6 separate regions of the Homo sapiens genome follow, and all the other regions are linked to region 5. The links are contacts of gene promoters, found by promoter capture Hi-C in blood cells and fetal thymus (Javierre and others, 2016). All regions are on one chromosome and are shown on one strand. The core of a region is centred on a gene start or on the middle of the fragment in contact, and the rest is flanking DNA. Distances in the headings are between cores, read along the strand shown. Region 1 overlaps WIPF3 (WAS/WASL interacting protein family member 3). Region 2 overlaps SCRN1 (secernin 1). Region 3 overlaps WIPF3 (WAS/WASL interacting protein family member 3). Region 4 overlaps SCRN1 (secernin 1). Region 5 holds the start of NOD1 (nucleotide binding oligomerization domain containing 1). Region 6 overlaps WIPF3 (WAS/WASL interacting protein family member 3).

What was found. Contacts are between HindIII fragments. The CHiCAGO score rates a contact against its expected background, and 5 or more counts as called.
Region 1: a fragment that was not itself captured here is called in contact with the fragment with the promoter of NOD1 in region 5 in 2 of 17 cell types (total B cells and naive B cells); the score reaches 7.7 in total B cells.
Region 2: a contact is called between a fragment that was not itself captured here and the fragment with the promoter of NOD1 in region 5, in 3 of 17 cell types (naive B cells, total B cells and neutrophils). The highest score is 6.8, in naive B cells.
Region 3: a fragment that was not itself captured here is called in contact with the fragment with the promoter of NOD1 in region 5 in 1 of 17 cell types (neutrophils); the score reaches 5.6 in neutrophils.
Region 4: a fragment that was not itself captured here is called in contact with the fragment with the promoter of NOD1 in region 5 in 2 of 17 cell types (neutrophils and total B cells); the score reaches 10.4 in neutrophils.
Region 6: a fragment that was not itself captured here is called in contact with the fragment with the promoter of NOD1 in region 5 in 1 of 17 cell types (total B cells); the score reaches 5.1 in total B cells.

The regions. Positions count from the first base shown.
Region 1 is chr7:29,884,668-29,888,466 of GRCh38, reverse strand. It overlaps WIPF3 (WAS/WASL interacting protein family member 3), which reads right to left. Exons shown (of 9, transcript NM_001080529.3): 6 at 250-399. Among named protein-coding and RNA genes, the nearest start is that of WIPF3, 80 kb to the right of the region's middle. The HindIII fragment of the contact is 853 bases long and covers 2,123-2,975 here.
Region 2 is chr7:29,925,955-29,930,117 of GRCh38, reverse strand. SCRN1 (secernin 1) reads left to right here. Exons shown (of 8, transcript NM_014766.5): 7 at 3,486-3,666. Among named protein-coding and RNA genes, the nearest start is that of FKBP14-AS1, 61 kb to the left of the region's middle. RefSeq lists an enhancer at 280-779. The HindIII fragment of the contact is 3,538 bases long and covers 341-3,878 here.
Region 3 is chr7:29,902,683-29,906,758 of GRCh38, reverse strand. WIPF3 (WAS/WASL interacting protein family member 3) reads right to left here. Exons shown (of 9, transcript NM_001080529.3): 8 at 2,397-2,473. Among named protein-coding and RNA genes, the nearest start is that of FKBP14-AS1, 84 kb to the left of the region's middle. The HindIII fragment of the contact is 1,865 bases long and covers 1,262-3,126 here.
Region 4 is chr7:29,946,147-29,950,439 of GRCh38, reverse strand. The region is part of intron 3 of SCRN1 (secernin 1); the gene reads left to right. Among named protein-coding and RNA genes, the nearest start is that of FKBP14-AS1, 40 kb to the left of the region's middle. The HindIII fragment of the contact is 5,029 bases long and covers 1-4,293 here.
Region 5 is chr7:30,476,112-30,480,050 of GRCh38, reverse strand. It overlaps NOD1 (nucleotide binding oligomerization domain containing 1), which reads left to right and starts at 1,267. Exons shown (of 14, transcript NM_006092.4): 1 at 1,267-1,445. RefSeq lists a silencer at 1,139-1,378 and an enhancer at 1,027-1,771. The HindIII fragment of the contact is 7,069 bases long and covers 822-3,939 here.
Region 6 is chr7:29,866,101-29,870,101 of GRCh38, reverse strand. All of the region lies in intron 2 of WIPF3 (WAS/WASL interacting protein family member 3), which reads right to left. Among named protein-coding and RNA genes, the nearest start is that of WIPF3, 62 kb to the right of the region's middle. The HindIII fragment of the contact is 6,783 bases long and covers 1-4,001 here.

The DNA of each region.
Region 1 (3,799 bases), core at 1,300-3,799, 590 kb after region 5:
GCTTTTCTTCCCTTTCTCTAATCTGAATTAGAAGGCTAGACAGTGGGCCTTGAAACTATGCAGAAAGCCTTGAAAGGAACCCTATTTAACAGAACCTATGGGCTGGTTGGTGCTGGAGTGAGCCCCTGTTCATGAAAGAAGCATGCACCCTGAGATGGCAGCACTGTGGCCAGCAAACTCTCTCTCCAGAGGTTGGGAGAATCACTTTCCTACTGGCAGCCAAACCGGCAGAGGGTGCAACCCACTTACCAATGATGTGCAGGCTTCCATTTCGCAGTTGACCTCCAGGCTGCTGCGTCGGGGTCCAGGCTGTGGCCTGCTGGCTCTTGCTTGAAAGCTCTGTGGTAGGTGATCTCGCAGGGGGTGCTGGAGGTGGATTTAGCTTTCCCCCACCGGCCCCTTACAGAGAAGATGATGGTGTACTCAGAAACACGGATGGGAATGGTGGATGCTATAACCTTATGTGAGATATTAGGCATTTCTATCTTCAGATGTAATATGATACAGCGAGTAAAAGGGCAACCTCTGGAGTCAACCTGCTTGGCACTGAATTGCAGTTCTCCTGTTGGGATAAGTAGCATAGCCTCTTTGTGTTTTAGTTTCCTCATCTGTAAGATGGGAGTAGTAATAGTACACCCACTTCCCAGGGTTACTGAGAAGATTCAATGAGTTGAATTTAAGTTGAGTGGCATGTAGTAAGTCCTCAATAAATGTTAGCTGCTGCAATAATATTAATGATGGTGATAACCTTCATCATCAGGTACAGCCCAAAGCAGGGGAATCACTAGAGAGTGGTAAGAACAGGAAGGGCTGTCTGTAGAAGAGGCCCAGAGGGAGGCTTGAAGAGGGAGCGGCCAGGGGCTTGTTCTGCCCCTGTGTCCCTGCTCACACTGGTTCTCCAGCACTGCAAATGCTTGTTTCTCTTTCCGGTCCACCTAAATCTTACGTGCCCTCCAGGGCCTAACTTGAATCCAACCTACTTCCTCCAGCCTTCTCTGATCATGCCTGAGAGGCTCACTATCTCCTTTGCCAATACTTTCCTGTATGGTTCATCTGGCAACCCAAAATCTGCTATCCTGGCACATCAGTGCAGGGGTTCCACTGCTGCTTATTTCTTCAGTGGCACTGCAAACATCACTTTGCTTCTTGAAATGATGACAATTACATTATTACTATCTGTGCTAAGATGTTCACAACTACTACCTCTCTCTTTTCCCCCCATGTTGGGCTAAAGTAGAAATTGCCCTTATTTTGAACATGGACAAACCAAGTTTCAAATCCAAAGATGCAAACAAGAAGGGCAGATATGAATCCCCATCCTGGCCTTGGGCTCACTACTCTGGAGCAGATGAAGGGGCCCCAGCTGCAGCAGGCATTCTCAGTCATCAGCCGCCATCCTCGTGTCTCATGTCCCTTCAGCATCTGCTCATCTTCTTTTCTTCCTCCCAACTGCCTTCCTCTCCCTTTCTGGTCTTCCCTTTCTGGGCACAAGGATCTATGAGGAATTTACTTGCTCCCACATGCAGTAAAAGGACTGCAGCCCCTCTTCTGGGTGAACAGCTGCCCCACTGTGTGGTAAGGAAATAATGCTGCTGGAGCTGAAGTTACATGCAAGCCCTTTATGCAGATTTCTCATTTCATATTCCTAATAATCCTATGTGAAAGGTGTTATTAGTAGGCCCATTTGTCAAATAAAAAAAATTCAGTATTAATAAAAAACAAACCCAAGTGGTGTGAGTTTCCACAGGAGTGGGTGAGGAACCCAGGATCTGAACTCATAGCCCTCTGAATCAAAAGCCTTGTTTTTGTTGGCCGGGCATAGTGGCTCACACTTGTAATACCAGCACCTTAGGAGGCTGAGGTGGGCTGATCACTTGAAGTCAGGAGTTCGAGACCAGCCTGGCCAACATGGGGAAACCCTGTCTCTACTAAAAATACAAAAATTAGCCAGGTGTGGTGGTGCACGCCTGTAACCTCAGCTACTCGGAAGGTTGAGGCACAAGAATCACTTGAACCTGGGAGGCGAAGGTTGCAGTGAGCTGAGATCCTGCCACTGCACTCCAGCCTAGATGGCAGAGTGAAACTGTGTCTCAAAAAAAAAAAAAAAAAAAAAAAAAAAGCTTTGTCTTTTTCATCACATCATAAATAGATGAAAATAACAAATATCAGAAGGGGCTTATCAGCCCAAATGCTGGCCCTCATGGTGACCAGTCAATTGAAAAGAGAATGATTAAAACCTTACCTCTTGTAATCAAGAGGCTTAAAAATATCTTTGCTCTTTGCACCAGGAATTCCCTTTAAGACACCAATACTTTTAGAAAAATATCAAAAACGTGGATTAAAATTTCTACAAAAGTATTTCTTAAAATATTACTCATAATAACAAAAAATGGAATCAACTTAGATATCTAACATGAGGAATATGGAATATATTGTCATGCTTATAAAGACATTTTAACAATTTGATAAAATTGTTTTTAACATAATGTTAAATAAAACACAGAACACAAAACTGTATGTGAAAAATGGTATTAACCATGTAAACGTGTACATATATTCAGAAAAAAGAATTGAAGAAACCTATCCAAATGGCAGTTTTCATCTCTGGGTGATGTTATTATGGGTGATTGAATTACTTAATTTACTCAGAGACAGCAGCATCTGGCTCTGTCATCCAATCTGGAGTACAATGGCACAATCATAGCTCCCCACAGCCTTGAACACCTAGATTCAAACGATCCTCCTGCCTTAGCCTCCCAAGTAGCTGGGACTATAGTTGTCTGCCACCATGCCCAGCCAATTTTTTATTTTTATTTTCTGTAGAGATGGGGTTTCGCTGTGTTACCCAGGCTGGCCTAGAACTCCTGACCTCAAGCCATCTTCATGCATGGGCCTCCCAAAGCAGTGGGATTACCGGTGTGAGCCATCCGTACCTGGCCAGTTTGAATTTCCGTCTATTAGCTCTGCAACAAGCTTGCGTTATTTTTAAGTCAAGAAAATACTTTTAAGAAGCTTTCTGCATCAAAAGATTTTCTAAAAGACAAAGGAATATGTGTGTTGGGGGTGTGCATGTGGATGTGTGTGTTATGAGTGTGCATATGTTTGAGTGTGTCTGCCTGTGTGGATGTGGGTGTATCTGTGGACGTGTGGAGGTACTTTCCATTCACAGGGGCACTAAAACTGAATGAAGCCTCCTACTAGCGGGATCAAGGAAATCAGCCATGGGGCATGAACGCTCAATTCAAATAACCTGTGCTGCATATGTGAAGGAATTATTTTTAATATTTGGCTCAAAATACAGGCCCTCAGTTTTCTTGAGTCAGCCGGAGAACCTGCGAAAACTAAGGCAGAGTGGGAATCCAGTTTACTGAGGGCCGGCGAAGATTCTGGCTGGGATCCAGATAGGAAAACGCGGGCAAATATAAAAGGAGGCCTGGTTCTGGAAACAAGCCACACTCACGCCCCCTCCACCTCAGGGAGGAGATTGGGAGTTGGAAGGTTGGTAGTAAGAATAAATAATCCCTCTCAAGCTCACTGTTGCCCTGTTCCAAGCACCTCAAACCTAAGAACTCACTTAATCCTTAACAACAAACCCAGGAGGTAACAACTATTGCCATCTATCCCCATTTTACAGATGAATAGAAGGGAGAACAGAGAGGCCAAGTGGTCGCCCAGGGCCACAGAGCTAGTAAGGGCAGGGGATCAAGGCCGGGATCCCTTGCTTACATGCAGCATGATTTTGGGCAAGTCTCTCTGCCTCCCTCACCCCTGGTGTCCATCTCTGAAACGAATACCTCCA
Region 2 (4,163 bases), core at 860-3,359, 550 kb after region 5:
ATATTTTTTATTAGTTGAGTATACTAAGCTTTGAAAAAATATTTGGAGAGCTTTGGCTGCTTTAGAATATTTTGGGAACCTCCTCATATTTATTATGTATTCTTTTTAAACTAAAATGGATAGATGAGAGGGACAAACTTATGGTATCTCTTCTCTTAGAAAAGCACCAGACACCCTCATTGATTAACCTCTCCATTCCAGTGAGCTTAGGGTGGGTTTAAAGTTACATCACATAGAGCATTCTGAGTTTTTACTATGCATTTATCCTATATTGAATACAGAAGACCCTGACTGTGGTTAGCATGAGCTTACTGAAGCTGGCATCACAAGTTTACAAGCTTCATGACAGAAATAGAAATAAACGAGTTGTAGAAGCTAGAAGGGACTGTTGAGATCACTGTAGTCAGATGAGAGCCAGAGAGGGAAAACATGGACCCACAGTGGGTCAGACGCAAAGCGGGGACTCACACCCCCGTTCCAAGTCCCAGCCCAGTTCCCTGCCCTGCTCTGTGGGAGGTAGCTCCGCCCAGCGGTGCTGCCAGGCTGTCCCCTTCCCTCACTTCTTGGCATGGCTCTCCCAAGGGGTCCTGTGTCAGAAGAGTCCTGAGATGCGCAGTAAGGGAAGCACTGAGGTTTTAGGAGTGAAATGGCAGGTTTCCTGATGAAGATACTGCTCCCACTTGGGTTTGGAGTGGGCTTTGGAGTGGCATGGGGATTGAATGAAGTAGCATTGCATGGGGCCTGCTCAGTAGGCTCCGCAGGAGGGCGTGGTCGCAGTTCCCTTGCCTGCCAGGTGTTGAGCCTGCACCAGTTCCACCGTGAAGCCTACCAGCCCAGGTGGGAGTCTTGGCTTTGCCCAGTTCTGCCCAGCGCAGAGCCCTGGAGCTGAGAAGATGTGAACCGAGCTGACTCTGGGCTGCTGGGTGGGAGCCCCGGGCCTGTCTACCACTGAAGGGTTTCTGTGCCAGTGAAAGAGGCTGATGCTGCTGAGGTGACATGCGCTGACTTCCCAGGAAACCCCGAGTGCTGTCTGGCCCTCAAGGGTAGGACGCCTGTCTGTAGTGAGACAGTCCTGCTGTCAGAGCCCAGAGGTAGCCTGGAGACAGCTGGTTGTGGATGGCTAGGCGTGCTCTCTCCTGGCCCTCCTCCTCCCCACTGCTCCATTGCAGCGAGCCCTCCATCTGCAGCCCTTTTGCAGAATCAACTGACTCACCAGTTAAAGAATTCAATTTCATATAGTAAAAATTGGTTTAAACAGTTTTAGGTTTTGCAATAATTCCTTTTTCATATTCAACAGCCATTCATTCAACACTCAGTAGAGGGGTATAGCAATCATCTATTTTCAAGGGGCTGTAGGAAGTGGAAGTGTGTGTTCCTTCTGTGCAAGGGTAGCTCCCCTATGTCTTTAGGGGGTCTTCTTTTGATGATGGCTAGGGAGGGTAGGTTCTTGGCAGGGCTTGACTTTGAGCAGGTGGGCGCAGCCTGGCATGCCTTATGCTTCCCAGTGGATCGGAGATGGGCCCAGTCTCCAATTATATTTGCGTCATCTATAGAGAACAGCAGAGTACCTGACACTAGTCCTCAACTAGTACCACTCAGTTCACCAGCTTGGGGTACGAAGGTCTCACTGCTTTTAATACTCAAATTAAATTAGTCTGGGCCCCAATTTTGCATATTGTGATCAGTGTCTTTCTTTTCTCACTTGAGACTCCTGTCCCATGGCAACATCAGGAAGCTAACCTAAGAGAGTACTTCTCATTACTGTTGTGTCTTTAGTAGTGCTCTTCAGACTGGGATATGTTATGAATCCGCAGGGATCTTGTTAAAATTGCAGATTCTGATTCAGCAGGACAGGGTGGGGCCTGAGGTTCTGCAGCCGATACTGTTGCTGCAAGTCCGAGGACAAAATTGGCTGGCAAGGGTTATTGGCTCCCAGTCCTTTTCAGGTCATGGCATACCTGAAAATAGTTTTTCTTTGTCTGTTTGTTTGTTTTTGAGACAAAGTCTCGCTCAGTCACCCAGGCCGGAGTGCGATGGCATGATCTTGGCTCACTGCAACCTCTGCCTCCTGGGTTCCAGCGACTCTTCCACCTCAACCTCCTGAGTAGCTGGGATTACAGGAGCACTCCACCACATCCGGCTAATTTTTTTTTATTTTTAGTAGAAACGGGGTTTTACCATGTTGGCCAGGCTGGGCTCGAACTCCTGACCTCAAGTGATCCACCTGCCCCAGCCTCCCAAAATGCTGGGATTACAGGTGTGAGCCACCATACCTTGCCCATACCTGAAAATATTCATACCTGTGTGCCATACTGGCAAGGCTGCCCTGGCTTCCTCAAGCTCCAGATGCCCCAGGGCTGAGGGAATCAACATCCTAGCTCACCTCTAGCCCACTTGAGGTACCCGAGGTGGGCCACAGTGCACCTGTTGAGAGGAGAAAAAAATGTCCAAATCTGACAAATCTGACCTATACATATGGGGCACATATGGGGAGTTCCTTCTCTCCTGCTGTTATTGCAGGTGCTGCCCCATGGTACAGCTGAAAACAGGCAATCCTTGGGACGCAGAGGTGCCCATGCCTGCCAGGAGCAGCCCTCTGATCCAGCAGTGTTTCCTCTGGATGTGGGGAGGGTAGGATAAGGCTCTCTCCCCGGCGTTACAGTTGGCCATAGTGGTCCCTTAGCCCGTTGGCCTGGGATCCCAGGCCACAGCTGTTTATATGCGTGGCTCTTGTGTGTGTGTGTGTGTGTGGGTGGGTGGGTGGGGGGGTGATGTATCCTAGACTTGTACAAGTACACACACATGCAGGCATACGCACAGCCATTTTCCCGAAGATAACATCCATCCTGCCGAGAGAACTGAATTGAAGAGAGCTGGGGGGCATTAGCTACCTGCTGTGCCCTGTGCTAGCTCTCTCACACAACCAGACTTCTGTGTGGTGTGCACCCTCCAAGGCCTCTTCTGTCATCTTTCTTACTCTGTCCCCTCCTTGGGTCTGTCAGAGATATTCCATAGATTTTTCAGTAAGGTAGAACCTCAGAAAAAAACTAAAAACAAACCCAAACCAAAAGGCCCTTCCTTTCCCAAAGGCTGCTTCTCAGACCACGGTATTAAAAAAAAAAAAGGCAAACCTCTCTCGCTCAGCTAGATGGCTCCTTGCACCGTTTCTCAGAACACTGTTTGTTTGCCTCACTTTTTATTGCTAAAAGAGTCCTCTCAAATGGTTCAGAACAAAGGAAGTCTGTTTTGATGTCTCTTTGCTGTAAGTAGAGGAATTTGCAGCTTGTAAATGGCTGCAGTTTTGCTAAAATAGCGACTAAAACATGCAGTTATGTCTCTCTTGGCACTCACCCACCCACCCGTCACCCACACCCACCACCCACCATAAGTTGGCTTGGGAAATGTTTGCTGAATAAAAGGACAGTCTCTGGGTGTTCCCGGGTCCCAGCCTCTGCCTGGCTGAAGTGCCTCTCCTTCCTCTCCAGGTCCATATTCAAGCCTTTCATCTTTGTTGATGACGTAAAACTTGTCCCCAAAACACAGTCTCCCTGTTTTGGGGATGACGACCCTGCCAAAAAGGAGCCTCGGTTCCAGGAGAAACCAGACCGCCGGCATGAGCTGTACAAAGCCCACGAGTGGGCACGTGCCATCATCGAAAGTGACCAGGTGAGCTTGCATGAGGGCCACAGAGGCGGAGGCGGAGGCGGGCGGGCGAGGTCAGCGAGGAAGGAGGCAGGGAAGCAGATGTCAAGCTAGACCCTACCCCCACCCATCCAGTGTGACCGGGCTTCTCCCAGAGACCAGGTTCCTGGGGCCTTTCCTAGAAGGCTGGTGTCCATTTTCCTGCCCAGGCTCTTGAAACCAAATAAGACAAAGCTTCTGCTTCTCATGTTATTTTGGAATTCAGCAGGCTGAGTATCTTACTTACATTTACTGTTTACGTAGGAATAATAGGAATATGCAGTACGTTAGGGATAACTGTTATATATTGTGTAAAATTCCTTATGTACTTTTGGGGGTAAAAAGTTGTTATTTGCTGGCAACATTTTATTAAAGATACAATCATATGTTGTTTCAAAAAAGTTCTGGAGTTGGCTGGTGGTGCTGGTTGCACAACATTGTGAATGAGCTTAATGCACTGAACTATACATTTTAAAGTTTTT
Region 3 (4,076 bases), core at 945-3,444, 570 kb after region 5:
TTTCTCTTTGCCTTTTGAAAATTTGATTATAGTGTTTCTTTGGTGTGGTTTTTTAGTTCATCTTACTTTACTGAGCATTTTGGATGTTTATATTCATGCCTTTCATCAAATTTGGAGAGTTTTGAGCTATTATTTCTTCAGAGAGTCTTTTTTACCCTTTTTCTTTCCTTTCTCCTTCTAGAACTCCCACAATAAGCGTGTTAATCTGCTAGATGGTCTCCCACAGGTCTCTTAGGCTTTGTTCACTTTTAATTTTTTTTCTTTCTGTTCTTCTGACTCAATAATTTCAGTTGTCCTATCTTCAAGTTTGTTGATTCTTTCATCTGCCTGCTCAAGTCTGCCTTTTATTCCCTCTAGTAAATTTTTCATTTCATTTGTTGTATTTTTCAGCTCCAGAAAATGTTTTTTTCCTCTTTATTGATACTTCCATTTTGTTCATACATCCGTTTCTTGACTTTCTCCACATTTTCCTTTAGTTCTTTGAGCATCTTTAAGACAGTTGTTTTAAAGTCTTTGTCTAGTAGATCTCCCATCAGGTCTTTTTTAAGAGCAGTCTCTATTGATTTGTTTTTTTTCTTCCTTTGAATGGGCCATACTCTCCTGTTTCTTTGTATGATGTGATTTTTGTTGTTGTTGAAAACTCTACATTTTAATCTAATAATGTGGTAACTCTAGATATCAATTCTCTCTGTCCCCCAGGGTTTGCTGGTTTTTCTTATTGTTTTTGTTCATTTTATTTTTTTGATTGTTGTAGGCTGTCTCTGTGCTAAGAATCAGTCTGAGGTGTAATCTTAAGGTCTTCTTGGTCTTTTCTGAGCCTGTGCCTTTCCCTGGGCATATGTGGTCACTTTCTAATTTTCATCATATATGTAGTAGCCTTTGAATGTTCATCTTTAATGTTTGGCTCCCAAATGGGGAAAAAAAAAGAGCAAGGACAGGAGGAACAAAATGGCCACCAGCCCTTGAAATCCCCAGGAGGCCACTTCAGCCAGAGGGAAAGGGATTTACAACAATAAGAGGAGGTGCAACAATGGCTGCCCATCTCTTTATTTGTACCTCTGTGATCAGAAGCAGCAATAACCAATCAGAGAACAGATTCCCCAGTATCTGGAGGACAGGGTTTTTTTTTTGTGCCCACCTTGGCTCCTGCAAGCTGTATGCAAGCTGCTCCAGGAACACGTGCCCAGTTGCCTGCCATGGGGTGGGGGGTGGAGGATGAGTAGTTACTATTGTACTAAGAGCACAATTTACTGTCCAAGCTTTCCCATGGAAGTTTCAAGCCTTTAATGAATCCCAGAGTTCCAAAATACATGAGACAAATTACATCAGACAGATTCTGCCAATGCAATTGTTGTCCACAGATTCCTGGTGCTTTCTCCTCTGCCATCTTCTCAGAATTCTCTCTACCTGTTAACAATATTGTGTATATTCTTCCTGTCTTTTTTCCTGTGTATATATACTTCTTCCTTAACTACAATCATACACACAGTTTTGAACCTGTGATCGTCTAAGAATCGTTACTGCAATTCTTGCATCAGCTGTGGTTAGAAAAGGGGGATACTTATCTGCTAGAGGATGTACTTTTTCCTCTGAGGAACTCATCCTAGCTTCCAGGAACCTAGCCTCTTCCTTCTCAGGTCACTTTCCTTGATGTTCCACACAGTTGCAGAATTGCCTGGTTTAACTGCAAGTGACTCTGTAGTCTGTCACATAGTATTCAGAAATGGGGAGATTATTGTTCGACTGAATACATGTTTTCAAAGAAACAAAGGGCTTTTAAAGATGAGACCCTGTCATGTGCAGGGAAATGTGTCCAGGTTAGGAAATAATTCGGTTCAAGATGCCCTGGGTGAGATTAAAGGTGTTTCTTCAAGGACTGTCTTATCACAAAAGCAGCTGTCTGGCTTGCCTTCTAGTTCTGTTCATTTCTTGTGGGTACTAGTACTTGAATTGTGACTAAATTTGGCCAAAATCAATTATAACATTGGTGGGGGAAAAAAAAACTCCAAGTGTGCTAAAAGAAACCATGTATTCTACAGATGAGAGAGAATACTGAATTATGTTTTATACATGTTATTCAGTTTTTCTCACAGGCCATCATAACCAAGGAAGAATGGGAAGTGATTGGCATGATTGTTGCAGAATGTCAGAGTTGCTAAACTTGCTTCTATATGTAGTGGTGATTCCAGGGAAGCCCCCTTTTGTCACACTTCAGATTTTGAAATGGTGAGTGTTTCATTCTGGCTTGAAAAAAGGTCCACCAAATGGCTTTCCCTGAGGAAAAGGAGTGTGAGGAAAAATATAAAGCTGTTTAGGAGAAAGCATACCCTTACCATTTCTGTGCCTCCTGAGGAGAATTCCTGGTTTTACATTCAGAGACATGAGGCTTGTGTTACCTGAGAATTTCTGCCTTTGATGTCATCAGAGCTCTGCCCGACTGCTTCCGCTTGGAGCCAGGGACCAGGTGTACGGCCTGAAGGAAAAAAGAACAATCTCATTATCTATTGGCCCAGGGACCGGGTGTGCATGTTTCACAGAGAAACTTTCTCTAAATCAGCACTTAAAACAATGAAACCTTCAGGATCCTGGCCCTAGACTGTCTGTTTCCACCACTCCCATCTTCTATGTCAAAGACCATGGATGCAGAAGAGTCATGTCTAATACTCTGAGAAGAGAACAAATTATTAAGGCCCATCAAATAAATGCACGTTAGAACTTCTTTACCCAAATATACCATCTCCAGGGATGCTCATCCATTATCCACAATGTGCCCAGCAATACCAGGGCTGGCTAAAAAAGTAAAAGATGAGTAACTGCTGACAAATCAGGCCTCCCATCCATGAGGAACCAAATCATTCTCTCAAGTGTGCTGTGCTTAAGTATTACACAAGTTACATATGAATATCTTCTTATAGTTAAGAATTCAAAAAATAAAGGAGATAATGGAAAAAAACCTCAAAGTTCCTCTTCTCTTCTTGTTCCTCCCCCAATCCCAATTTTCTATCCCAGAGTCACCATGGCTAAAAGTTTGATGTTTATCTCTTCAATTTTTTTTTTTCTTTTTGGTATTTCCATACATACATCTGTATATATACAGATACATGTTTTGGTTGGTCTACCCAAGCTTAAATCCCCATTCCCAGGTGTTCCAGAACTCTCCCTTCAACTGGTTATTCCAAATGGTGTTTCCTCTGTTGCACTGGTAGGACACCTATCTATTCTGTTTCTGTCATGAACTAGGCATTAAATAATCATGTCCCAAAGTCTCCAGAACAATCCAGATTGCTGTGCTATTTAAAAAGCAACAGAAAAGCATGAATGTTCATTATAGACTATTTATAATAGTGAACAATTAATGACCTGTGTTCAACATAGGTTTTTAGGTAACGTAGGGTTCAGTATTACATGATGGAGTACTAAGCACCTGTTTTTTTATTATTTTATTTTTCATTTTATTTTATTTTTTAGACAAGGTCTCCCTCTGTCTCCCAGGCTGGAATGCAGTGATATGATCATGACTCACTGCAGCCTCAACCTTCTGGACTCAAGTGATCCTTCCACCTCAGCCTCCTGAGTAGCTGGGATCACAGGTGTGCATCACCACATTCAGCTAACTTTTAAAATTTTTTGTAGAGACAGGGTCTCACTATGTTTCCCAGGCTGGTCTTAAACTCCCAGACTCGAGTGATCCTCCCGCCTTTGCCTCCCAAAATTCTGGGATTACAGGCATGAGCTACTGCACCCTGCAGGAAACTGAATATTTACAAAGACTCATTTTGGAGAAATGAATTTGTATAAATAGAATGATCTCAACTATTTTAAAAATTCATTGAGAAATACATAATAATATTCTGAAATGTTTCCTTCTAAGTGGTAGAATCACCATTAAAAAAAAAAAACACGCTCTTTTTTGTTTGTTTGTTTTGAGACAGAGTCTTGCCACAGGCTGGAGTGCAGTGGTGCTATCTCAACTCACTGCAACCTCCGCCTCCCAGGTTCAAGCAATTCTGATTCCTCAGCCTCCTGAGTAGCTAGGACTACAGGTGCTTGCCACCATGCCTGGCTAATTTTTTTGA
Region 4 (4,293 bases), core at 560-3,059, 530 kb after region 5:
ACGTGCCATCCATGATGTCCAGGTTTTTCATCTTGGGGGGCACTGGCAGGCCCACACTGAGCTGCCCTCAGCCCTCCCAGCCTCCCTCCTGTGCTCATTGATGCCCAAAGTCTGGAGAAGCCCGAGGCGGCAGGGGGCTGGTGTGTCAGCACCACCCTAAGCATGTGCACACCCAGCCAGGTTGCAATAGCACCTGGGCTCAGCCACAACTTTGCTCTGCACTGGAGCAGGTGCTGGGAAGCGGGAAGAGGTCAGGGAGCAGGAAGCAGGCACTTCCAAGCCTGTAGGGGCAAGGGCTTCCTGGGCTCCTGAGAGTGCAGGGATGCCCAGGTCCAGAGCAGCTGCAGCTGTGCCTGGGAGCATGGGGCTCCCACCCTGCCAACTTGGTAGGGGGTGGGGCTCCCACCAGCCTCGCAAAGCACGCAACCCAGACCCTGCCTCCCTGTTGCAGCCGGCATCTTCACAGTGGCTCCTCCAGATGGGCCACCACTGCTATCACCACTTTAGGAGGCGAGTCATGAGGATCACTTGAGCCCAGGAGTTCAAGACCAGCCTGGGCAACATGGCAAAAGCCTGTTTCTACAAAACAAATGCAAATTGTAGCTGGTTGCACTGTTGCATGCTTGTGGTCCCAACTACTTGAGAGACTGAGGCGGGAAGATTGCTGAGTCCAAGAGGTCAGGGCTGCAGTGAACCATGATTGCACTACTGCACTCCAGCCTGGGTAACAGATCGAGACCCTGTCTGAAAGAAGGAAAAAAGGGCCTGATGTGGTGGGTTATGCCCCATAATCTTAGCACTCTGGGAGGCCGAGGCAGGAGGATTGCTTGAGCCCAGGAGTTAAAGACCAGCCTGGGCAACATGGTAAAACTCTGTATCTACAAAATATACAAAATTAACCCAGTATAGTGGCCCACGCCTGTGGTCCCAGCTACTTGGGAGGCTGAGGTGGGAGGTTTGCTTGAACCCAGGTGGGGAGGTTGCAGTGAGCTGAGATCATGCCACTGCACTCCAGCCTGGGTCACAGAACGAGATCCTGTCTCAAAAAAAAAAAAAAAAGAGTGAAGGAAAGAAAGGGGAAATTACTTTCTGGTTGTTAGGGTGCCCTTTTTTTTTTTCTTTTTTTAGACGGAGTCTTGCTCTGTCACCCAGGCTGGAGTGCAGTGGCACCATCTCGGCTCACTGCAACCTCCGCCTCCTGGGTTCACGCCATTCTCCTGCCTCAGCCTCCCGAGTAGCTGGGACTATAGGCGCCTGCCACCATGCCCGGCTAATTTTTTGTATTTTTAGTAGAGACAGGATTTCACCATGTTAGCCAGGATGGTCATGATCTCCTGACCTCGTGATCCGCCTGCCTCAGCCTCCCAAAGTGCTAGGATTACAGGTGTGAGCCACCGCTCCTGTCCTAGGGTGCCACTTATAATCCAAGGTCTGTCAGACATGATAATGCCTCTGGGCCTCAACATGGATGAGAACTATGAAGCGTTTGGAACCTCTTTGTCAGAAGTATGCTGGTAAATGTTTAATAACCAGCCTGGTGGAGGGAAGGGGCAGCGCTGTTTGAGTCCTTTTTCAATTTCCATGGTGTAAATACTCCCACTGTGAGGGGTTTCAAGCTACCAACAGTTTCAGAACTGGCTCAAAATCCCTAAAATTTAACCATCTGCTCTCCAAGCTGGTAGCAGCTGGCTCCAGCAGATTGCTGCATTCTTTCAGTGTTTCTTGCCTCTTCTTCCCTTTGCATAACTACTTTATTCTTTTTTTTCCTGCATGCTGACTTTTGCTAGTCCCATTTGTGTTTAACAATGGCACTAAAACCTAGTCAATTCCAATATTTCAGAACATCTTATAATTCTGGACACATTCCATCAGACCTTCAGCATGTTAAAAATCACAAAAGTCCTTGGCAAAAGGCCAGTGTGAAAATTTGGAAAGGTCTGTAGTTTGTCTTTAGGTTGTTGGTGAATGTGAGGACTCAGGTGATTTAAAAGGAGGTTCAGTCACCATTTGTAGGCGGGAGGAACCTGTGTAATCAGAGTTACTATTTCCTGAACACTGTAGTAAGACATGCTTTGCACATATTATTTCATTTAACTCTCACAGTAACCCAATGAAGTAGGTCTCCTCCCCTTGAGAGTGAGGACACTGGAGCTTAGGAGGGTTGAAGGAGTTGCCCAAGGCCCCAGAGCTAGAAGGTGGCTAAGCCAGGGATCCCAGGGCCTGCTAGCCTCAGAGAGGCCACTCCTCTATGTAGTGGAGCACATTTTACTTCACCTGTCAATGACGCAGGAATTTCGGGACACTGAGAGATGGAGATAAGTCAAAAAGTTTCACACGCTCTTTCCCTGGATCACCTTCACATCCATCACCTGTGTTATCACTCGTCTTAGTCCATTTGGGCTGCTATAACAAACATACCATAGCCTAGGGGGTTGAAACTACACAAATTTATTTTTCACATTCCTAGAGACTGGGAAATCTGAGATCAAGGCACCGGAAGACCCAGTGTCTGGGGAGAGCCTGCTTGCTGGTTTGCAGACGGCCATCTTCCCCCGTATCCTCACATGGCAGAGAACAGAGAAAGAGGACGTGTTCTGGTGTCTCTTCTTTTAAGGGCACTAATCCCATCATGGTGCCTCCACCCCTCATGACCTCATCACCTCCCAAAGGCCCCGTGTACCATACCATCACACTGGGGATGAGGCTTAACATATGAATTTTTGGGGAAACCAGGGGGACAAGCAATCACTTCATAGCATTACCTTCCTGCTTCTAGCCCTCTGGCTGAAGGCAGGGAATTTCCAATTTCCAAAAGGTCCTGACCTCAGAAGGGCCTGGCAGACTGCTTGATTGTGGGGAGGAGGGAAGATTATTTGCACCTGAGTCCTATAAGAATACTAGGCCCACCTTTCTAAGGGGGCTGTGTTGCCTATTTTTATTACTTTTCCCAAGTCAGTGATTATATATCCATGGCAAATCTAGTTTTACCTGATTTGAGATAGAAAAGGACAGGGATCTCCTAATCCATGGAGGCACAGATGTTGAAAAGATAAGCAGAGTTTCTAAACAAACGGGCTTTAAGCAGGAGAAGTACAGGTGTGACCCATCTTTCTCAGTGAGATGTGTTAACTTTTCAGGAACGGGCAGGGTGAGCTTGACATACCTGTGAGAAGGTCATGGGCTCCCAGGGAAAGATTTTCCTATAAAACTAGGAATTGAATTCAGGAGCATCTAATTCCCAGGCCCAGAGCAAGCTGGACAAAGCACACACTTTGGAAGAATTCGAACTGCACAGAAGATAGATGTTACAGTGGAACTCTAACCTTGGCCCATTGAGTTTCTTCCCCTTCCCTGTCCTGGTCCTGCCCAGGCAGAGGGGTAGCAGCCAAAGTGAAATTAGGCATGGGGCCAGAGAGCACTGCCCTCTTCTGGAATCACATGAATCTGCCGCATGTAGGAGGTGAGACTGTTGGGAATGGCTTTAACATTGGCCTCTGGATGCCATGTGACTTGTGGCCCCAGGTCTCTCTGGCATCTCTTCTGCACCCAGTGACATGGGATTCATCTGCATTTCTCAGTTGCAGAGGGCAAGGGTGTAACCCTGGTGTTATTCACGGCCCATGTACTATGGAGCAGTTGGCCCTGTCCTCATGGCATGGTAGGAAGACCAGGTGGGAATAATCAGGTGGGACAAAGGGGTATCTCTGACCCATGGTCCTGGCACAAGGGATAGGAGGGTGAAATCAGAATTAGGTCTGTGGATAGTGCTGAGGTCCTGTTGCCAACTCTGCCAGAGGACATCAAAGTCAGCATGGGAGGGCAAGTGCAAGTCTAGGGCCTCAGTGTGGAATGCAAACAGGCAGAACATCAGAAGAGTACACTGGAAATCAAAAAAGATAAGTCACAAGCTCCGAAGACAGGGCTGTTACAGCTGGCTGTGTATTCACATGCTCCCAGCACATGTTTGCACGGGCAAGTTGGGGCCCTGCAAAGGCCCTGGGAACAGGATTCTGCCTGGAATGTCTGTATGAGGCATTGTGACCAGGGGGCTACCAGGGACCTGTGGAAGGGAGGAAGGAGGCCTTCGAGTGTGTACAACGTGGGGTTCTGAGAGGCACTCACAGCACCTTTGTTTGTTCCGGAGCCTCAAGGTAAGATGAGTGCCTGCTTCTGTTCCTTCTCTTTGGAGAAGATGACATTGACCAAAGGAAAAGTCAGCTGAATTCAGTCTTCTAGTGGGTTTGTTCTTTTATCCCTCTCCTAAGGTTTTAGGGTTCAGCTTTGTAAATCACT
Region 5 (3,939 bases), core at 18-2,517:
GACCCGAGGTCATAGGTGGATCTCCTCACAGAGTGAGGGTGAGGACAGGGGACTGGTCTCCTGAAGGAGTCCTCCTGTCCCGGGTCTTCGGCACCAAATGTCACACGTGTCCGTGTGAAGAGACCACCAAAAGGCTTTGCGTGAGCAATAAAGCTGTTTATTTCACCTGGGTGCAGGTGGGCCGAGTACGAAAAAAAGAGTCAGCAAAGGGAGTTAGGGGTGTGGTAGCTTTATAGGATTTGTGTGGGTAGTGGAAAATTACAGTCAAAGGGGGTTGTTCTCTGGTGGGCAAGGCGGGGGCCGGGGGGGTGGAAGGTCTACAAAGTGCTCAGTGGGGGAGCTTCTGAGCCAGGAGAAGGAATTTCACAAGGTAATGTCATCAGTTAAGGCAGGAACCAGCCATTTTCACTACCTTTGTGATTCCTCAGTTGCTTCAGGCCATCTGGATGTATACATGCAGGCTTGGGCTCAGAGGCCTGACACAAGTTGGCACATTTGATCCTATCAACTTTAGTTTGCACTTTCACTTTTGATTTAAGAACATACTTTCTGTTTCTCAGAGGGCAGCCTCTGATGGGAATTTTAATACTCACAAGCATCAGTGGCTATATGATTGAATGTACTTCTTCAGTGTGAGTAAGTGACAACTTTCTGTAGCATGATATCCCTTATGGACACGATCCCCATTCAAAACGTTTTAAAACTATTTTATTGGGGACATTTATTAGCATGTTAAAACTCTTTTACAACCTATTAGAGCATATGCATAGAACATAAAATGTACACTGCCAAGAACAAATTTAAGGATAGGAAGAAAAGCTTACATTTTTTAAAAAGTATAAATTGAAATGTATGCAGTGTAATTTAAATTTGATTACGTTAACCTCCATTTCATCAGGACCACGTGTCGCGTTTTAACAAGAGTTTCCCTATCATGTCCAGGCTTTGGCTCTGGTTGCAGGCGCTGGGTAGGCACTTTTACGAGGAGGGACCTGGCACGATGGCACCACAAATTCCCAAGTGTGTCACCTCTGGGCGAACTTGGGCCTGTCCACTCGGCCCTGCGCGGTGGCCAGGGGCTCACCCTCTCGCACCGGGCGTCCCTCTGCGCGCAGCTTCTCTCGCCCCCCCGCGCCAGACCCGGGCGAATGGCAGCACCGTGGGACCCTGCCTTGACCGCCCCCGCCCTTCGGCGGCCTCTCCCAGCAGCCGGCAGGCTCTTGGGCGCGCCAACAGAGGGGCGCGGCTGCGGCTGTAGTCGCAGCCAGTTCCCGTTCCGGGCCCGCGAGGCAGCCGCCCCGGTCCTGCCCCTCCCTCGCGCTACTGCGGGAGCAGCGTCCTCCCGGGCCACGGCGCTTCCCGGCCCCGGCGTCCCCGGACCATGGCGCTCTCCGGGCTCTTCTCTAGCTCTCAGCGGCTGCGAAGTCTGTAAACCTGGTGGCCAAGTAAGTCCCAGCGACTGGGGATTCGCGCGGGGCAGGCCCTTTCTGAGGTCCTGGGCGCTGCGAGTGAGGAGGCGCAGGGAGGCGGGATTTGCGTGCGGGCGGAACGCAGCGCGGCTCTGGAGGAGCTCTGGGTGGAACCAAGCGGAGAAACCCGCGAGTTTGAAGCATGTAGCGAAAGTTGAGAGGGATGAACTTCACAGTCAGCGGAATCGTTTATCCCACTGTGGTCGAACGCAGGGGTTCTCAATCGTGCCAGCAGCTTAGAACCACCTGGGGAGCTTTTAAAATCCAGATATCCAGGCTGCACCCTAGATCAATTCCATCAGAATCTCACGGAGTCAGACCCAGGCCTCCGTATCTTTTAAAAGCTCCCCAAGTGATTCCAGTGTGCAGCCAGCGTTCGAGGGTTTGTGGCAAAGGCTGGAAGGGCAGACAGGGGCCTTCATGGAGTCCCGCCTGCAGACGGGACAGCAGCTCCCAGTGTCCTGCTTGGTCCTGGAGAGAGGGTGAGAACTTCCCTTGGGTTTCATGCTCCACAAAGTAAGGAAATGAGACAATGCTTGGCAAGGTCGCCTGAATATCACATTCAAAAACGCCTCCAATGTGTGCAGTTGTTTTGGCACATTGTGAAAAACATAGGAAATGACAGAGGTTGATGTCTCATTAGCTCTGCATTCTAGGAAACATTTCGGTTGTTGGTGTTTGAAATTAAGTCTGGGGAAGCTAAGCTAGTAAACCCATGGCCTTGATGACTTCTGGCCTTTCTGCTTTAAGGGTGAAGCCAGGGCCGGGCGCGGTGGCTCACGCCTGTAATCCCAGCACTTTGGGAGGCCAAGGCAGGCGGATCACCTGAGGTCGAGAGTTCGAGACCAGCCTGGCCCAACATGGTGAAACCGTCTCTACTAAAAAAAAAAAAAAAAAAAATTAACCGGGCGTGGTGGCGCATGCCTGTAATCCCAGCTACTCGGGAGGCTGAAGCAGGAGAATTGCTTGAACCCGGGAGGCAGAGGTTGCAGTGAGCCGAGATCGCCCTGTTGCGCTCCAGCCTGGGCAACAAGAGCAAAACTCCGTCAAAAACAAACAAACAAACAAAAAACAAAAAAACGGTGAAGCCAGAAGTCGTGCTTGCCAAAGGGTCGAGTTTGTTCTCCCTCAAAGCCCCTGTTGAAGATTGAACTATCACTTTCAGGGAAGAGTAAAAGAGTAACTCCACGATGCATCTTAGAGAGGAGTGGATTCCCTGTTCTCACCCAGGCTTAGATGCCAGGGGCCAGGTAGCTGAAATCCAGGCAAACCAGGCATTGACAAAGTACAGACTTCTACCGAATATGCCAGACAGATAAGCAAGCTGTGTTTAAAACAAACAGCAGAGTGGTAGAAGAGGGCTCTTTCAAATATTGTAAGAAGAGTAGGTTTTATTTTTGTGGAGTGGAGAAATAAGTTCACGCTTTGGAACCCATCAAATCTGGGTCAAAACTCGGATTCTGTCACTTCTATGCTGTGACTTTGGGCAAGTTCCTTGACCTCTCCAAGCCCCTGTTTTCCCACCTGTAAAATAAAGAGCAACCCTCTCCTGAGGCTAGCATAGTTCAGCGAGATGATGTGCATCACACACCTGGAAGGTGGTGGCGCTGGCAGGTGCTCTGGCAGAGGTAGTTATTAGACACTGGAGTGGCAGTTTGTGCCCGTTAATTGTTTACTTAGTACAGCCACTATGAGGGAGAATGTCTATAAAATGTTCCCTTCAACGCTCCATTCCTTCTCCTGCCCTGCTGCCCCGCTCAGGGCCTTAGCGGGCTTTAAGTCTGAAATCTTAGGCTGCAAATCCCCTCAGTCCCCCAGGGCGTATTAATGGCTCTGGAATACAGTTTTACTGCATGTGATAGGAATGAATATTTTGACACACACACACTCAAAAGCTGTTCTTAATCTTGAGACTTCCTCCTCTCTGTTGCCACATATATATCTTTTAAATGGCTTTCCAAGAAAGCTGGGCTGTGCACAGTGTCTCAGAATTAGTGTATGTGCACACACACGCACGTTGCTCCCTGCTGACAACATCCTCAGACCATACCCTTGGTGTTCCTGTTTTGCTCCTGACTCTTGGCCTAGGGACAGTGAATCTTTCTTGAATGACCAAGGACAGTCAGGGATCTGAGGAAGGGAGAACCCAAATTCTACAATTGCTGATGCCTGCGTCCCAGCTGGAACTTTACCCTGGTACGTGCTCTGTGCATCATGGATGGTCACTTTGATCCTAACAGCAGTGCTGTTTAGATTAGACATCAGAAATAGAAACAGTAAGTAATATAGGCATAAAGATCAAGTGTTTTTCTAGTGTATGTGTGATCACTGATATTTGCTTACACAAGACTATCAAAGTCTTATCTCTTATTCAAAGAAAAGGATTCAATATTTGTTCAAAATCTAAGATATGAACGTAGGATTTAAGGTTTAAGTTACTAGTTTCTTCTATCATTCTTATTATTGGGGG
Region 6 (4,001 bases), core at 524-3,023, 610 kb after region 5:
CCTCTTGATCCTGGAAGTCCAGATGAAGATCCCTATCTGTGTTCCTAGAGCAACATGCTTACCCTTAGCAGAGCATCTACTACCCAGATCATGTTATTCCACTCAAAATCTGCAATGACTTTCCATCTCACCCAGTGGAAGAAAATCAGAGGCCTCATTAGTATTGCCTGCTGAGCTTGCCCAGATTTCCACGGGGTACCATGAGTTTATGTATAAATGCCAGCTTTTTCCTACCCAAACCAGTGTTATCAAGCAGTTCTACTGTGTGCCAATCCCTTCCTAACTACAAACTGCACATCTGGCAATATATTGTAGTACTAATTTTTAGCAACAATGAGAATTTCGATTCCAGTATTAATTCTAAGTCTCTTTAGTAGGGAATAATCAGAAAAATATAAGAATAAATGTTAGGGATGGGAAGAATAGAAAGAAATATGGAGAAAGAGAGATTTGGGACATGTGTAAATTGGGCAGATACAGATGGATTTCAGAGGCAGGGATTAGAGACTCAACTACCCCATAACTAGCAATTCAAAAGGACATTAAACATATAAATGGTGGATCAGACACTAGACAAAAGCATGTCTTTAAATGCACATGATGGTTACTTTAACTGGTAAAAGTAGTTCACAGAAACTTCTGGAAAGAAGGGGCTTGAAAAGATGGTAAATAGAAATCAGTAAAGCGAACCCCTTGAATAGTAATATAACCCAATATTATTTAAGATTTGAGTGCTAACTCTGTGCTAGGCATGGTGTTAAGAGTGGGGATACAGGTGGGGCGCAGTGGCTCACGCCTGTAATCCCAGCACTTTGGGAGGCCAAGGTGGGCGGATCACCTGAGGTTGGGAGTTCGAGACCAGCCTGACCAACATGGAGAAACCCCGTCTCTACTAAAAATACAAAATTAGCCAGGTGTGTGGCACATGCCTGTAATCCCAGCTACTTGGGAGGCTGAGGCAGGAGAATCTCTTGAACCCGGGAGGCAGAGGTTGCAGTGAGCCAAAATTGCGCCATTGCACTCTAGTCTGGGCAACACGAGTGAAACTCCATCTCAAAAAATGAAAAAAAAAAAAGAGTGGGGATGAAGTATGGGTAAGATTGCCAGGATGTTGTGCTTGGGGGGTGTATGTACATGTGTGTGCGTGTGTGCACATTCTCTGCATAATGATGTATCAGTCAGTAATGCACCACACATACGACGGTGGTCCTATAACAGTATAATACCATATTGTTATTGTACCTTTCCTATGTTTAGATATGGTTAGATACACAAATACTTACCACTGCGTTACAGTTGCCTACAGGATTCACTGAGTACAGTAACATGCCATACAGGTTTGTAGCCTAGAGCAACAGGCCATACCACATAACCTAGGTGTGCAGTAGGCTCTACCATCCAGGTTTGTGTGAGTGCACTCTAGGATGTTCACATGATGACAAAATCACCTAACAATGTAGACGCTTCAGAACATATACCCTTTGTTAATCGATGCATCACTGTATATATGTGTGTATATACACACATATATGTACATATATTTAATATATTTGTGTATGTGTGTGTATATATATATATATATACTTCTCATTATTTATACTCTAGACCCAGAGCCTCCTAGCTGGTCTCCAAAATTGGACTCTCATCTCTCTTTGAGACAGCCTTCAAATGATCGTTTTTAAAGTGCTAATTAACTCCTCTTCTCAAAATGCTTCAATGGCCCACTAATCTCTACCGAATCAAGGAATTCAGCCATACTGTCCCAAGATATCTTTCCTTGGCCAGTTGGAGCCTCATTTCAGCTGCTCTGGGTTTATCCCCTGTCTCTTCTTTCCCACTTCCAAGCCTGTGCTCAGCCCACCTCCTCTTCTGGGGATGCCCCACACCCCACTCTGCCATATCTGCCAAACCTTTCATCTCCCCGTGAAGCTCTTGACACCAAATACAGTTTACTTTAGAAAATGTATTTTTTCCACTTTCTCAACTAAACTTTTCCTTGTGTGATCTGCTTTTCCGCTGCCAAGGCACATCGTTTTTAATTCTCTACAGCACTGCTCATATCTTGCCCAGTATTATAGCTTCTACATATTGGTCTTGCTTCTTATTTTTGAGCACAAAAACTAAGCCACTCCACTTTCTCTTACCAGTGAATCCAGCTTAAAAAAACTGTGAGCAACCTATCAGTATTTTGTTGACATGAACTCTATAGAAACCTTAGTCCCTGGATCTTCGACTCTGCCTCCCCTGACATTTATCTGCTCCCACAAAGCACGCAGGTGTGGGAAGAGAAGTGGCTGTTTTTTGAGGTCACATTTCAGCCCTGATTCATCCTAATGTCTTCACCCTTTTTATCCTTTGGCCACTGTGTCCCTAGAGATGTGAATTCAATTCCGCACCATTCTCTCCTTTACAATGATGCCAATATTCTCAGGCTTTTAAGACTAAATTTTAAATTACGAGAAAATTTGATCTTCAAACTTAAGTTGGACCTAGAAAGAACAATCTCATGAACTCAAAAAAAAAAAAAAAAAAAAGCTGGGGTGTGGAGGGGGCGGGGGCAGAGCCAGGAGTCAAGGGCATGGCACCAGGAATAACTAATAAATAATACCTAGTTAGAACAGTGTGAGGTTTCATATCTTCTATTTCTTCTAGACAAAAAGTACTATCAAAAAGAAACATGCCCCCGCCTGGCAGATTAATTTGCAAACTAATGAAATAACATTACCGTTGTTATTTCCAACTCACAGTGCTGCTGGCCCTCAGTCTCTGTTAAGGGCTTCTCCCCATTCATCCAGGCTCGAAACCTCAAAGGTCCCTATGGCTCCTTGCTCTCTTTCTCATTTGAAATAACCAGTCTTTTACAGAGTCCCGGCTCCTTCTCTCTACTTAGAGTGCACACAGCGGTGACTTTGGCGTTTGGGTAAAGGAATTAACAAGACGGCTGCAACATGCAATGGGTGACAATGACAATACCAATAATAAAAAGAAATGGGAAGGCATTTGTATGTGCCAGGCACTGTCCCAACTGCTTTGCATGTATTAATTCATTTCAAAGGCCCTGAACAATTCTATAATGTAGGTGCTAGTTATGAGTATTATGTCCAGTCTACAGATGAGGCACAAGGGTGAAGCAGACCATCCACTGCTACCAAGTACAGAGCTGAGCAGTGAGTACAGGCAAGTTTGGCTTTCTTCATCACAACACAGCCTCTTATACCCAGGAAATACAAGACAGGCCTGAAGCTGGGAGAGCGGAGAGGTCCCACTGCTCTCTGGCTTGAGGCCAGGCTAGATGTTGCCTCACAAGCAGTGTGAGAGCCAGAGCAGGAAGGAGTGGGCAGGAAAGGGGCATCAGAGAAGGAAAAGGGAGGGTGGGTAGAAACAGACAGTGAGTGGAGCGCCGAAGAAGGCTGGGGCCAAAGGAGCTAAGTGCTAGGCTTTTGCCAGAGCCAGAAAGGACAGCCAAGGCTGAATGACAGGCTCTGAGAAGAGCCTGATGAGTGCATTAAATGCCAGCAGCCACCTTGGCAGGGGGACTGAAAGCACTTAAAATGGAAAGTGCACAGAGTAACCCTATGCTGTGTGGCTGATACCCTCAACTGTAAATAAGCTGTACCTGAAACTCCCTTGTCAGGTAACAGAGAACCTCTTATGGAGCAGCCCTGCTGGTCCACCTCTCTCTTGTGAGTGTTGGGCCTCTTCTCTCCTTGCTTGTCTCCCTATTGGCTGCAGGGCAAAATGCAGGGTCTTTGGCATTTGGCCTCCCTTTGTTGGCTCTAAAATAATAGTGGTTATGAACATTGCTCACATATGAAAGGAGACAAAGGTAATGAAAATAACTAAGCAAGGGAAAATTCCAAAATTTCTAGAAAGTTCAAGATGTTTCCACAGTATTGTCTGTTATACATGATAATGTAAGTGAATCTAGACTTCCTTTTTTTTTGAGACAGAGTCTTGCTCTGTCGCGCAGGCTGGAGTGCAGTGGCGCGACTTTGGTTTAC